Linked DNA regions of Homo sapiens: region 2 is linked to region 1. Evidence: promoter capture Hi-C in 16 types of primary human blood cells and fetal thymus (Javierre and others, 2016). All regions are on one chromosome and are shown on one strand. The core of a region is centred on a gene start or on the middle of the fragment in contact, and the rest is flanking DNA. Distances in the headings are between cores, read along the strand shown. Region 1 holds the start of LONP2 (lon peptidase 2, peroxisomal). Region 2 overlaps LOC105371240 (a long non-coding RNA gene).

Region 1 (7,561 bases), core at 3,746-6,245:
GTAATCCCAGGACTTTGGGAGGCTGAGGCGGGCGGATCACGAGGTCAGGAGATCAAGACCATCCTGGCTAACACAGTGAAACCCCGTCTCTACCAAAAATACAAAAAATTAGCCAGGTGTGGTGGCAGATGCCTGTAGTCCCAGCTACTCGGGAGGCTGAGGCAGGAGAATGGCGTGAACCCAGGAGGCGGAGCTTGCAGTGAGCTGAGATCGTGCCACTGCACTCTAGCCTAGGCAACAGAGCGAGACTGTGTCACAAAAAAAAAAAAAAAAAAAAAAAAATCTAGGTAATACCATTCAGGATATAGGCACCGGCAAGATTTCATGATGAAAACAACAAAAGCAATTGCAACAAAAACAAAAATTGACAAATGGGATCTAATTAAGCTAAAGAGCTTCTGCACAGCAAAAGAAACTACCAGCAGAGTGAACAGACAACCTACAGAATGGAAGAAAAATTTTGCAATCTGACAAAGGTCTAATATCCAGAGTCTAGAAGGAACTTAAACAAATTTACAAACAAATTTAAAAACAAACAACCCCATTAAACAGTGGGCAAAGGACATGAACAGACACTTCTCAAAAGAAGATATTCATGTGGCCAACAAACATGAAAAAAAGCTCAACATCACTGATCATTAGAGAAATGCAAATCAAAACCACAGTGAGATGCCATCTTACACCAGTCAGAATGGCAATTATTAAAAAGTCAAGAAACAATAGATGCTGGCGAGGTTGCAGAGAAAAAGGAATACTTTTACACTGTTGGTGAGAGTGTAAATTAGTTTGACCATTGCGGAAGACAGTCTGGCAATTCCTCAAAGATCTAGAGGCAGAAATACCATTTGACCCAGCAATCCCATTACTGGGTACATACCCAAAGGAATATAAATCACTTTATTTTAAAGGTACATGCACACGTATGTTCACTGCAGCACTAGTCACAATAACAAAGACATGGAATCAACCTAAATGCCCATCAACAATAGACTGGATAAAGAAAATATGGTACATGCACACCATGGAATACTATGCAGCCATGAAAAGGAATGAGATTACGTCCATTGCAGGGACATGGATGGAGCTGGAAGCTGTTACCCTCAGCAAACTAACACAGGATCAGAAACCCAAACACTGCATGTTCTCACTTATAAGTGGAAGCTGAAGGATGAGAACACATGGTCACATGGCGGGGGAACAACACAATGTGGCCTGATGGGGGCAGGGGTAGGGGGAGACAGAGCATCAGGAAGAAAAGCTAATGGATGCTGGGCTTAATACCTAGATTATGGGTTGATCTGTGCAGCAAACCACCACGGCACATGTTTACCTATGTAACAAACCTGCACATCTGCACATGTACCCCAGAACTTAAAATATTAGGTTGGTGCAAAAGTAATTGCGGTTTCTTGCCATTACTTTTGCACCAACCTAATAAAAGTTGAAGGAAAAATAAATAAATAAATAAATATGAAATTATCTCCTTACATAATACTTACTAATTACAAAGAGAAAAATAGTAACTTACAGTGAAAAAATCTGGCAGATACCACCTTCACCAAGTAGTCAAGATTCAAATCGTCATTAATAAGACATTTCACCATCATATATCACATGGCCACAGCATCACTTTTTTTTTTATTTTTTGAGACAGAGTTTCTCTCTTGTTGCCCAAGCCAGAGTGCAATGGCCTGATCTCAGCTCACTGCAACCTCTGCCTCCTGGGTTTAAGCAATTATCCTGCCTCAGCCTCCCAAGTAGCTGGGATTACAGGCACGCACCACCACACCTGGCTAATTTTCTGTATTTTTAATAGAAACGGGATTTCACCATGTTAGCCAGTCTGGTCTCGAACTCCTGACCTCAGATGATCCACCCATCTCGGCCTCCCAAAGTGCCGGGATTGCAGGTGTGAGCCACTGCGTCCAGCCCACAACATCTCTTTCATGGTATTTGGCCCCAAAATGCATATCATTGATCTAATCGTGAGAAACAGTAGATAAACTCCAATTGAATGAACTTCTACAAAATAACTGACTGATATCCTTCAAAAGTATCAAGGTTTTCCCACTGCTCAACGAAATAAAAGAGGACACAAACAAATGGAAGAACATTCCATGCTCATGGATAGGAAGAATCAATATCGTGAAAATGGCTGTACTGCCCAAGGTAATTTATAGATTCAATGCCATCCCCATCAAGCTACCAATGACTTTCTTCACAGAATTGGAAAAAACTACTTTAAAGCTCATATAGAACCAAAAAAGAGCCGGCATTGCCAAGACAATCGTAAGCCAAAAGAACAAAGCTGGAGGCAACATGCTACCTGACTTCAAACTATACTACAAGGCTATGGTAACCAAAACAGCATGGTACTGGTACCAAAACAGAGATATAGACCAATGGAACAGAACAGAGCCCTCAGAAATAATACCACACATCTACAACCATCTGATCTCTGACAAACCTGACAAAAACAAGAAATGGGGAAAGGATTCCCTATTTAATAAATGGTGCTGGGAAAACTGGCTAGCCATATGTAGAAAGCTGAAACTGGATCCCTTCCTTATACCTTATACAAAAATTAATTCAAGATGGATTAAAGACTTAAATGTTAGACCTAAAACCATAAAATTCCTAGAAGAAAACCTAGGCAATATCATTCAGGACATAAGCATGGGCAAGGACTTCATGACTAAAACACCAAAAGCAATGGCAACAAAAGCCAAAATTGACAAATGGGATCTAATTAAACTAAAGAGCTTCTGCACAGCAAAATAAACCACCATCAGAGTGAACAGGCAACCTACAGAATGGAAGAAAATTTTTACAATCTACCCATCTGACAAAGGGCTAATATCCAGAATCTACAAAGAACTTAAACAAGTTTACAAGAAAAAATCAAACAACCCCATCTAAAAGTGGGCAAAGGATATGAACAGACACTTCTCAAAAGAAGACATTTATGCAGCCAACAGACACATGAAAAAATGCTCATCATCAGTGGCCATCAGAGAAATGCAAATCAAAACCACAATGAGATACCATCTCACACCAGTTAGAATGGCAATCATTAAAAAGTCAGGAAACAACAGGTGCTGGAGAGGATGTGGAGAAATAGGAACACTTTTACACTGTTGGTGGGACTGTAAACTAGTTCAACCATTGTGGAAGACAGTGTGGCAATTCCTCAAGGATCTGGAACTAGAAATACCATTTGACCCAGCCATCCCATTGCTGGGTATATACCCAAAGGATTATAAATCATGCTGCTATAAAGACACACACACACGTATGCTTACTGCGGCACTATTCGCAATAGCAAAGACTTGGAACCAACCCAAATGTCCATCAATGATAGACTGGATTAAGAAAATGTGGCACATATACACCATGGAATACTATGCAGCCATAAAAAAGGATGAGTTCATGTCCTTTGTAGGGACATGGATGATGCTGGAAACCATCATTCTGAGCAAACTATCGCAAAGACCGAAAACAAAACACTGCAAGTTCTCACTCATAGGTGGCAACTGAACAATGAGAACACTTGGACACAGGGTGGGGAACATCACACTCAGGGGCCTGTCGTTGGGTGGTGGGGAGTGGGGGGGAAGGGATACCATTAGGAGATATACCTAATGTAAATGACGAGTTAGTGAGTGCAGCAAACCAACATGGCACATGTATACATATGTAACAAACCTGTACGTTGTGCACATGTACCCTAGAACTTAAACTATAATAAAAAATAAAATTAAATTAAAAACAGAAAAAAAATAAAAGTATCAAGGTTGTAAAAAAAAAAAAAATTGGACGGGCGCAGTGGCTCAGGCCTGTAATCCCAGCACTTTTGGGAGGCCAAGGCGGGCAGATCACGAGGTCAGGAGATTGAGACCATCCTGGCTAACATGGCGAAACCCCGTCTCTACTAAAAATACAAAAAATTAGCCGGGCGTGGTTGCGGGTGCCTGTAGTCCCCAGCTACTCGGGAGGCTGAAGCAGGAGAATGGCATGAACCCGGGAGGCGGAGCTTGCAGTGAGCCGAGATCTCGCCACTACACTCCAGCCTGGGTGACAGAGCGAGACTCCGTCTCAAAAAAAAAAAAAAAAAAAAAAAATTGAGGACTTGCCACAGATTAGAGAACACCTAGGAGATTTCATAACAAAACACCTAGGAGATTTCACAACAGGATCCTGGATATTGGATCCTGGACCAGATCCAATGAAGGACATTAGTGGGAAAACTGGCAAAATTTGGGTAAGGCCTATAGGTTAAACGATAATAATGTTAATTTCCTGGTTTTGATCATTGAACTATGATTATGTAAGATGATAACAGACGAAACTGGGTGAAAGGTATATAGGAACTCTGCTGTAGTTTTGTACATCTAAAATCAATTCGGGCCGGGCACGTTGGCTCACGCCTGTAATCCCAGCACTTTGGGAGGCCGAGGTGGACGGATCGCTTGAGGTCAGGAGTTAAAGACCAGCCTGGCCAACATGGTGAAATCCCCTCCCTACTAAAAATACAACAATTAGCTGGGTGTGGTGGCGGGCATCTGTAATCCCAGCTACTCGGGAGGCTGAGGCAGGAGAATCGCTTGAACCCGGGAGGCAGAGGCTGCAAGCCGTGGGTATCGCGCCATTGCACTCCAGCCTCCGCGACAGAGCGAGAATCTGTCTCAGAATAAATAAATAAATAAATAAATAAATAATTAGTTCGAATCAAAAGTTAAAAACACTTCAAGTATATGTAAAAAATCGAAGAAAACGTTAAAAACACTTCAAGTATATACAATTCAAATAAGATCATCCTTCCAAATATACTCTGTAAGTGAGGCGAAGGTCGCTGCACGCTTGAGTGCACGTCTTTCCGCATAGGTAGGACGCTCAAGTCTTACCGGGAGGCTCTCCTAGAGAGCAGCGCGAAGCCATGGCTTTTGGGCCCGGGGACGGACCGTAGCGCGTAGCCGGAAGCGGAGGCGTGGAGGCGGGTCTGAGGTTTGGTGACTGCGGGGCAGGCCGGGGGCAGCTGTCTGTCTGGCTCTTTTTGACAGCCCCCAGTGCGAAAGGCTGCCAGCATGTCATCAGTGAGCCCCATCCAGATCCCCAGTCGCCTCCCGCTGCTGCTCACCCACGAGGGCGTCCTGCTGCCCGGCTCCACCATGCGCACCAGCGTGGACTCGGCCCGCAACCTGCAGCTGGTGCGGAGCCGCCTTCTGAAGGGCACGTCGCTGCAAAGCACCATCCTGGGCGTCATCCCCAACACGCCTGACCCCGCCAGCGACGCGCAGGACCTGCCGCCGCTGCACAGGTAGGCCTGGCTGCCCCCGCGGCGGCGGCGGGCGGCGCGGCCTCCTCCGGGGACCTGGGCCCAGGCCACGGCCTGCCTTGAGCGCGAGGCTCAGTTCGGGGCGGCCTTCGCGGCTCGGTTCCGCCTCTCTGGTGCTATCACTTGCAAAATGGGGATGTCAGATACCTGCCCCATGACCATGAATGAGATCGTTCATGAAGTAGTGCCTGACACCTGGTGAAACTACGCAGTTCCCTACCGTTCTGGATAATTTAATTTGAATCCTCTTCCCCCTCTCCGCAATTCCTCGCCCTCGGTCTTCAGCCTCCTAGGCCAGTGCTTTTAACTTTCCAGGCCCTTTCTTTCTCCCCGGTGATCTCTGCCTTCACTTGCCTTCGCTTTTCACCTTTCTCCCCACTGCCCTTTACTCCTATCCGCCTCCCCTTTTCTGTCACCCATCATTTTTGTCCGCTGAGGCATTCTCTGCTCCGTGAGTTTTAACTTTTCCTGTTTCATTCCTAAACTGCACTATTTGTGGGTGCCTTTCTTCTATACTCCCTGCCACCCTTCTCCTTCTCCCCCTAATCCTTCTGTTTCCCTTTGTAAAGGGCCTTTACTGCTCACATTTTCGCTGGTCCCCCTTTCTGGAACTTTCCTAGCTTCTCACCTCTGCTCCTTCACTCATAACATTTCTTAGGCCCCAGGCTTACTACTATATTGCCCAGTACCCTCGCCCTATTGGTGTGACTTTGGGTGAGAGCTTTAACCTCTATTTCTTTTATTCTGCAATTTGGAAACTGACAGCATCCATCTCTTAGGCAAGTTATGAAGAATAAATTGAATAATGTGTATATTCCACTTTGCACCATGCATGATGGATGACTTTGCTGTCCAGTACTGTGTAGTGCATGTGGCTCGTCAAATTGAGATGATAGAATTGCCAGTTGTCCTGGTTTGCTGCGATTGTCTGTTTTAGCATTGAAAGTCCTATGTTTTAGCCCCTCCGTCCCAGGGAAACCAGGAGGTTGGTCACCCTAAATGTGCTGTAAGTGTACAATACACGCCAGATTTTGAAAAAACTTTTTGATTAATACATTTTATATGGATTAAATGTTGGAAAGGTAATATTTTGAGTACTTGGGGTTAATAAAATGTTAAGATTTCTGCTGTTTTTACTTTATAATGTGGCCACTAAAATTTTATATGTGGTCCACATTATATTTTTATTGGACAATGCTGGTATATCGTATGCTCTCAACAAGTATCTTCAAACTCACCTGCCAAGCACCCGCCTCCTATTCCTAACTCTACTGGAGGTGTTGTGTTTTCAGTTTAGAGCTTCTCCTTTCCTGGCAGTTATCCCTTATTTTTAAATTAGGGGTTCCTGACTCTGAATGGATTTCCGGAGGGTTGGACATGTCTTATTTTTCCTCAAAATCTTGTGACTATGTACATTTTTTTAGGAGAATCCTTTGCTTTCTTCAGATTCTCAAAGGAGACTGGTACCTCCCCCCACCCCCGTTAAAAGAAAGCAAAACAAAGCAACAAAGACCAACAAACCTTCCACAGCAGCCCAGTATTCATTTATATTGTAAAAGCCTTGATTTTCTCAAGCATGGAAAATATTTTGGCTCCCATCTGACCTGCTTTGGTTATTGCCTGAGTGGAATTGGTCACATTCCAAGTTTCAGTACTCTTTGATAAATTGTATTGGATTCTAGTTTCCCAACATACGACTCTGCTCCTTCTGCTTACTTTTCCCAAATTATTTTGCCTTCTGTGCCCAGGCACACTTAGTTCCCTGTCTAGGCAAGAGTGGTCATTATTAGACTTCATTTTCTTTCTACTGTGCATATGTATTGATTAGCCATGGGCACATTGTGAACTTGAAAAGTCGATTTAGTCACATTTTAAGTTTCACTATTTGTTGGTATTATTCTGGCAAGATTTTGGAAGGTTTTTATTATTTATTCATTTGTGTATTTTTTGAGACAGAGTCTCATTCTGTCTCCTCCGCTGAAGTGCAGTGGCGTGATCGTAGCCCACCGCAACCTTGATTGAACTCCTGGGCTCAAGTGATCGTCCTGCCTCAGCTTCTGGAGTGGCTGGGACTATAGGCGTGCACCACTACACCCAGCTAATTTTTAAATTTTTTGTAGAAATGGGGTCTCACTATGTTGCTTAGGCTGGTCTCAAACTCCTGGACTCAAGCTATCCCCTGCTTTGGCCTCTGGAGTAGCTGGGACTATAGGCAAGCGCCACCAT
Region 2 (7,561 bases), core at 2,488-4,987, 390 kb after region 1:
ATTTAGATGATGTATCCTCACTGGGATTATCATTTGTTATTTAAAAAATTTAAATAATAAATTTAATTTGTTTTGTTATTTATTATTTACTTTTTTTTTTTTTCTGAGATGGGGTCTTGCTCTGTCACCCAAGCCAGAGTGCAGTGGCACGATCTCAGCTCACTGCAACCTCCGCCTCCCAGGTCCAAGCGATTCTCCAGCCTCAGCCTCCTGAGTAGCTGGGGTTACAGGCATGCGCCACCGTGCCAAGCTAATTTTTGTATTTTCAGTAGAGATGGGGTTTTGCCATGCTGGCCAAGCTGGTCTCAAACTCCTGAGCTCAGGTGATCCACCCACCTTGGCCTCCCAAAGTCCTGGGATTACCGATGTGAACCACTGTGCCTGGCCTGTTTTTATTTTCTAAAGATGGGGTCTTGCTCTGTTGCCCAACCTAGAGTGTAGTGGCTATTCACAGATATTATCATAGCTCACTGCATAGCTCACTGCAGAACCTGGGTTTACTGATGCACACCACTGCACCCAGCCTCACTGGGATTATAAAATAAGACAAAACTCCGTCCTCAAGGCTCACATGATCTCATGGCCGAGTCAGAAAAGCCGACCAAGATCAGCACAAGTTGATATGTGAACACAGATATGAGGCAGCTCACCCAGCCTGGTGTGAAGCTAAGGAAGGCTTCCTGGAGGACGTCCCCAAGGAAGGTAGGAACAAGCCTGATGAGAGGCAGGGGAACCTGAATAGCACAGCTCATGCCTGTAATCTTAGCTACCAAGAAGGCAGAGGCGGGAGGATATCTGGAATCCAGGTGTTCAAGACCAGCCCAGGCAACATAGCAAGACTCTTAAAAAAAAAAGACGCAGGGAGATCATTTTCAGCAGAAAGAGCAGAAGATGAAAATGTCTGCAGGAGAGCTCTGTGGCCAGCAGTAAGATGTTCTGCAGGCCTGAGGAATGTTGTGGGGGATGGTGTGAGGATGAGCAGGCACAGCAGGAAGTGGGTCCAGACCACTTAAGGCTTCAGGACCACTGGAGACTGGATTTCCTGAGAAGGCCATGGGGGCCATAGAGAGGCTGGTTAAATTTATTTTATTTTTTCCAATTTAGCCTTGACTTGAAACTCATAAATTTGTTTTCTCTGAGACAGGGTCTCACTATGTTGCCCAGGCTGAACTCAAACTCCTGGGCTTGAGCCATCCTCCTGCCTCAGTCTCCCGGGGTACTACAGGTGTAAGCCACCATGCCCGCCTGCCATAGAAAGGTTTTAAGCAGGACATTAACACTGTGAGGTCCTCTCTCTGTAGGGTGGGTTGGAGGGGAAAGGATTGAGAACAGAGAGACAGCACTTTGAGAGGCTGAGGCAGGTGGATCGCTTGAGGTCAGAAGTTCAAGAACAGCCTGGCCAACATGGTGAGATCCCGTCTCTACTAAAAATACAAAAATTAGCTGGGCGTGGTGGTGTGTGCCTGTAATCCCAGCTATTCAGGAGGCTGAGGCAGGAGAATTACTTGAACCTGGGAGGCGGAGGTTGCAGTGAGCCGAGATGGCACCACTGCATTCCAGCCTGTGCAACAAGAGTGAAACTCCATCTCAAAAAAAAAAAAAAAAAAAAGAAAGGAAAGATAGGATGCTGATGTCATAGCTAGAGGGAGATGACAGAGCCTCAAATGCAGGCAATGTTTGGGGACATAGAGAGGATAAAATTGATCAGAGAGGTGATATGCAGAGGCAGCCTATAGGACTTGGTTTTTATGGAAAGTGGGAGTAACGCTGAACCTTAAGAATGTCTGGGTTTCAAATGGCATGGAATGGCTGAGGTGTATTATTCATTCAGGATACTTATTAATGTCTATCATGGGTTCTTTCTGGGTGCTTGGAATACATCAGTGTTAAAAGAGACCAAAAAAAAAAAAAAGAAGACAATTCCCTGCCCTCGTGATCGTGAGGTTGATATTCCAGTGGGGGAGCAGGCAATAAATACCAAATCTAAATATGTACATTTTACAATATTAAAAAGTAGACCACATTGGGGGAAAGGCAGGGAAAGGATGGTCGGGAGAGTTGGGAAGGGAGGGGTGTCGATATTTTAAGTAGGGCAGTTAGAAAAGATCTCATTGAGGTTGGGCTGAGTGGCTCACACCTGTAATTCCAGCACTTTGGGTGGTCAAGACAGGAGGATTGCTTGAGCCTAGGAGTTCAAAACCAGCCTGGGCAACATAGTGAGATATCGTCTCTACAAATAAAAAAATTAGCCAGGTGTGGTGGTGCACACCTGTGGTCCCAGATATTCAGGAGGCTGAGGAGGAAGGATCATTTGAGCCCAGGAGTTTGAGGCTGCAGTGAGCTATGATTGTGCCACTGCACTCCATCCTGGGCAACAGAGTTCAGAAAAAGAATAAAAAGAAGAAATCTCATTGAGAGGTGATATTTGACAAGAGTCTTGAAGGAGGCAGGAGTAATGGAGAGGGTGCGTTCTCTGTTCCAGAGGCTAGACTGAGGGAGGAGGCAGGCGGCGTGCACACCAGTTCCCAGGAGAGATGTTTCCCTTAGGTGGCCTTCCATGACATCCACCACACACTTACGCTTCCATCTCATTTTCCAGGACTCACATACACGACCATCTCTGTCTCCAGGGAAGACTAGGCCATGCAGGGAGGGGAGATGGATGCCAAGCCAGGCGTCTGCCACCTCAGAAGGTGACACTTGAGCTGGGTGCTGGTGAATGAATGCACAGGCTTATTTCAGTGAGTAGAGATGATGAGGGGCATTCCAGGCAGAGGAAATGGAACGTAAAGGCAGAAAGGAGTGGAAAAGAATGTTTGGGAAAATACACGCTGGATGGAGTGACTGGAAGAGAGAGAGAGAGTGTGTGTGTGTGTGTGTGTTTGTGTGTGTATGTGTGTGTATGTGCGTGTGTATGTGCGTGTGTGTGGGTAAGGGTGAAGCACACACAGAGGTCACAGACTCAGATGCTCTCAGAGTTGAGGCAGGAAGTGAATGAGGCCAACAGAGATTAAGCAACAGGGAACAGTGGAGTCTGTGGCATCTTGGTGTGCTCAGCTCCCATCTGAAGTGGGTAGCTGTGATTTTGCTTCAAGTCGTATAATATAGGACCAAGGGGGCTGGATAGTCTAATTTCTTCTGAGCAGCCAAGAATCTAGATTTTTATATAAAATCCTCCAGTTTTAACTAATTAAACATTTTAAGCATGCTAAGTGAACATGTCGGTAGCTTGGACATGGCCCATAGACAGCTGGTTTGTGTGGGGTAATATAGAACATAAGGGGGTGGACCCACAGTTCATTGCTGGAATCAAGCTAAATAAAATATCTCAAAGGGCAACAGGGGCAAGTTGAAAAGAAGAAGGACGCTAGTTAGCCAGTTAAGACCGATCACTTTGTCTCAGGGTTTCGTTCTAAGCTTTGCTGGTTTAGAAATTCTGCCAGGCGCAGTGGCTCAGGCTGGGGGTGGTGGCTCACGCCTGTAATCCCAGCACTTTGGAAGGCTGAGGCGGGCCTATCACTTGAGGTCAGGAGTTCAAGACCAGCCTGGCCAACATGGTGAAACCCTGTCTCTACTATAAATACAAAAATTAGCCAAGTGTAGTGGCACGTGCCTGTAGTCCCAGCTACTCGGGAGGCAGAGGTTGGAGAATCGCCTGAACCCAGGAGGTGGAGGTTGCAGTGAGCTGAGATCGCACCATTGCACTCCAGCCTGGGTGACAGAATGAGACTCTGTCTCAAAACAAACAAACAAACAAACAAACAAAATAGAAATTCTGCCTTTCTTTTCTCAATACTGACATGAGCAGACTCAGTAGGACTGGCTCACACTAACTATCAGTCAGGATGGGCTAGGCTCTGCTCCAGTGACAAATAATCTCCAAACCTCAGCGGCTTCACACAACAAAACTGTATTTCTTGCTTATTCTACATGTCTAGCACAGGTCAGCAGAGGGACTCATTTCATCGTTGTGCCCCGGGATCCGGGCTGATAGAGTCTCCATTTCAACCATTACAGAGGAAGGAAAAGAACTATAGCAAATCCCTCACTGTCTCTTCAAGCTTCTCCCCGGAAGAGACCCGTGTTATTCCACTCCCTTTTCATTGAAAAAAGCAAGTCACATGGAAAGCAAGTCACATGGACTCAACTAATTTCAAAGGAGTGGAAATGCAATCCTAGCAGTTTCTTGGGAGGAGAGAAGAACTGGAATATTTGGGGTTAGCTCTAATTACTATGTTGCCAGCCATGCTTCCAGGAGGTGGATGGAGAAACCACGAGACACATAACAGATCCAGCTCAGACTCCTGTGCTCCTTGATAGGCACATTTCCTCCTGGTCAGCAGATCTTTCTGGGAGGTGCAGCCAGGTGGACCATCCTCATGGCCGGTGGCATCCCCTGAGCCTCCAGCTGTACTCTAAGGTAAGTGCCTAGGTAAGGCACTTACACCCTACACCCTCTGCTCCCTGACCCTGGACAGTGTCCAAGACCACATAGACTGCTGTGTTTCTGCCCCATCTTTCGGAGTTGCCCTACACACATTCCCTTCGGATAAAGACTGTTCTGTCAGTTGTCTATGTCTTTCTTTTAAAAAAAATTGAGAAAGGGTCTTGCTCTGTCACTCATGCTGGAGTGCAGTGGCACAAACATGGCTCACTGCAGCCTGGACCCTCCTGGGATTAAATGGTCCTCCTGCCTCAACCTCCCAAGAAGCTGGGAGTACACAGGTGCACAGCACCTGCCCAGATAATTTTTTGATTTTTTTTTTTTTTTATAAATACAGGGTCTCACCTTGTTGCCCAGGCTGGTCTGGAACTCCTGGGCTCAAGCAATCCTCCCAAAGTGCTGGGATTATAGGCATAAGCCACTGTGCCCAGCCTGTTTACATCTTTCTAGATCCATTCACAGCCAGACAACACTGTGGTTGTTTTGATTGGATTTGGGATATTCTAGAGACTCGTCAATTTTTTATATATAAGCACTTTTTTTTTTTTTGAGACAGAGTCTCGCTCTCTCACCCAGGCTGGAGTGCAGTGGCACGATCTCGGCTCACTGCAAGCTCCGCCTCCCTGGTTCATGTCATTCTCCTGCCTCAGCCTCTCGAGTAGCTGGGACTACAGGCGCCTGCCACCATGCCCAGCTAATTTTTTGTATTTTTAGTCGAGACAGGGTTTCACCGTGTTAGCCAGGATGGTCTCGATCTCCTGACCTCGTGATCCACCTGCCTCAGCCTTCCAAAGTGCTGGGATTACAGCCGTGAGCCACCGTACCCGGGCCATAAGCACTTCTTGGTCATGAGTAATATCCTCTTTTTTTCTTTTTTTTCTTTTTTTTTATCCAGTGACTTGTAAATCAGAATGAGTAATGTCTTCAGGTGTTTAAACCTGATTCTTATTTTTTGCCTTTTTTCCTCCTCATTTTACTTTCAAACTTTGACTTTTCCTTTGTAATCCCCTGCAGCCTGATTCTTCCAACCATGGCCCTCATATTGAATTCACCATCCTCTCTCATCCTGCATTTAAGCCCTGCAACGGGCTAGCTTGTGTCTTCCCAAAATCTATATGTGGAAGTCCTAACACCCAGTACCTCAAAATGGGACTGTGTTTGGACACAGGGCCTTTAAGGAGGTGATCAAGGCAAATGAGGTCATATGGGTGAGCCCTAATACGATATGACTGCTGTTCCCATAAGAAGAGATTAGGACGCCGACAAGCACAGAGGAAAGACCACATGAGGACGTGGGGAGAAGACGGCATCTACAAGCCAAGGAGAGAGGCCTCAGAAGAAACTGGTCCTGCTGATTTTGGCCTTCCAGCCCCCAGAACTGGAGGAAAATAAATTTCTGTTGCTTAAGTCACATAAATTTGTAGTAGTAATTTGTAGTAGTACAAATTACTACAGTCTGTAGTAATTTGTTGTGGCTGTCCCAGCAAACCAATATAAGCCTTCCTCCCTACCAAAAAAACGACCTTAATCCAGATTAAGTTTATATAGTGAAGGCTCCTATTGAAAAAATGGGATCTAGGTGGACAAGTGTTACTGCAATGTTGAGGCCTGGGAGGAGCACACGCCTTCCCAATGATCACCTTGGAGTGCAGTGATGAGTTCTAACGGTGTTTTCGCAAAGGGTGGTATATACACCGGTGGTACAGAAAATGAGGTTAACAGTTACACGGATGAGCATGATGTATACAGTAGGCCCTCTCTATATTCATGAATTCCGCATTTGTGGCTTCAACCAACCAGGAATTGCATTGTACAGATTTTATTTAAATTAATTAATTAATTAATTTTTGAGACAGGATCTTGCTCTGTCACCCAGGCTGGAGTGCAGTAGCATGATCTTGGCTCACTGCAACCTCCACCTCTTGGACTCAGGTAGATCTTCTCACCTCAGCTTCCTGAGTAGCTGGGACTACAGGTGGCAGTCAACACGCCTGGCTAATTTTTTGTAACTTCTTCTGGTAGAGATGGGGTTTCACCATGTTGCCCAGGCTGGTCTGTCTTTAACTCCTGGACTCAAGCAATCTGCCCGCCTTGGCCTCCCAAAGTGCTAGGATTACAAGTGTGAGCCACCATGCCCAGCCTGTACAGATTTTATATCTTGTCAGTACTGTAAAAAACACAGTATAATAGTTATTTATATAGCATTTACATTATATTAGGTATTATGAGTAATCTAGAGATGATTTAAACTATGTAGGAGGATGTGCATAGGTCATATGCAGATCCTACACCATTTTATACAGGGACTTGTGCATCTGCAGATTTTAGTGTCTGCAGGGGGTCAGGAGTGCCCTGGAACCAATACCCTCTGTGGAATGACTATGTATATTTTAAATTAGAAAAAATATATTATTAACATATCAAACCCATTCTTTTCATGGTTATTGTTTTTAATGAAGAGCTAAGTTAAAAAACAGGTAACTGATTTAAAGTTGATTTAAAAATTAGTTGGGTGGACCAGGCGTGGTGGCTCACGCCTGTAATCCTAGCACTTTGGGAGGCCGAGGCAGGCAGATCACCTAGGGTCAGGAGTTCGAGACCAGCCTGGCCAACATGGTGAAACCCTGTCTCTGCTAAAAATACAAAAAATTAGCCAAGCATGGTGGCACGTACCTGTAATCCCAGCTACCTGAGAGGCTGAGGCAGGATAATCGCTGGAACCTGGGAGACAGAGGCTGCAGTGAGCTGAGATTGCACCACTGCACTCCAGCCTGGGTGACAGAGCGAGACTCCATCTCAAAAAAAAAAATCAGTTGGGTGATAAGTGAATATAGCAAAATATTCTTACAAATAACGAAGGTATATTCAAATGACTGACATCTGGGAAATGCTGAGCTAGGGCCTGATTGTGTTTCTGGGAGGATGAGTGTGTGTTGGCAGGGGCCCTTCCACGTGTACCCTCTTAACCTGCCACATGCCTGGTTATGGGTCTGAATGAACATTAATTTCAAAATGATTTGATACAGTGTGATTGTACCTGCTCCAAACTTCTAATTCCAATATAGATTGAATTGCACAGTCCTTCACATTACAGAGGGAAAGAGGAAACAGGGCCAG

The links. The method cuts DNA at HindIII sites, captures the fragments that hold promoters and counts their contacts. A CHiCAGO score of 5 or more calls a contact.
Region 2: a contact is called between a fragment that was not itself captured here and the fragment with the promoter of LONP2 in region 1, in 4 of 17 cell types (endothelial precursors, M2 macrophages, fetal thymus and 1 more). The highest score is 6.0, in endothelial precursors.

What each region holds. Positions count from the first base shown.
Region 1 is chr16:48,239,305-48,246,865 of GRCh38, forward strand. It overlaps LONP2 (lon peptidase 2, peroxisomal), which reads left to right and starts at 4,996. Exons shown (of 15, transcript NM_031490.5): 1 at 4,996-5,317. The coding sequence starts at 5,085. The region is part of intron 1 of ABCC11 (ATP binding cassette subfamily C member 11); the gene reads right to left. RefSeq lists an enhancer at 4,932-5,021. The HindIII fragment of the contact is 24,694 bases long and covers 1-7,561 here.
Region 2 is chr16:48,632,865-48,640,425 of GRCh38, forward strand. The region is part of intron 1 of LOC105371240 (a long non-coding RNA gene); the gene reads left to right. Among named protein-coding and RNA genes, the nearest start is that of N4BP1, 26 kb to the left of the region's middle. The HindIII fragment of the contact is 644 bases long and covers 3,416-4,059 here.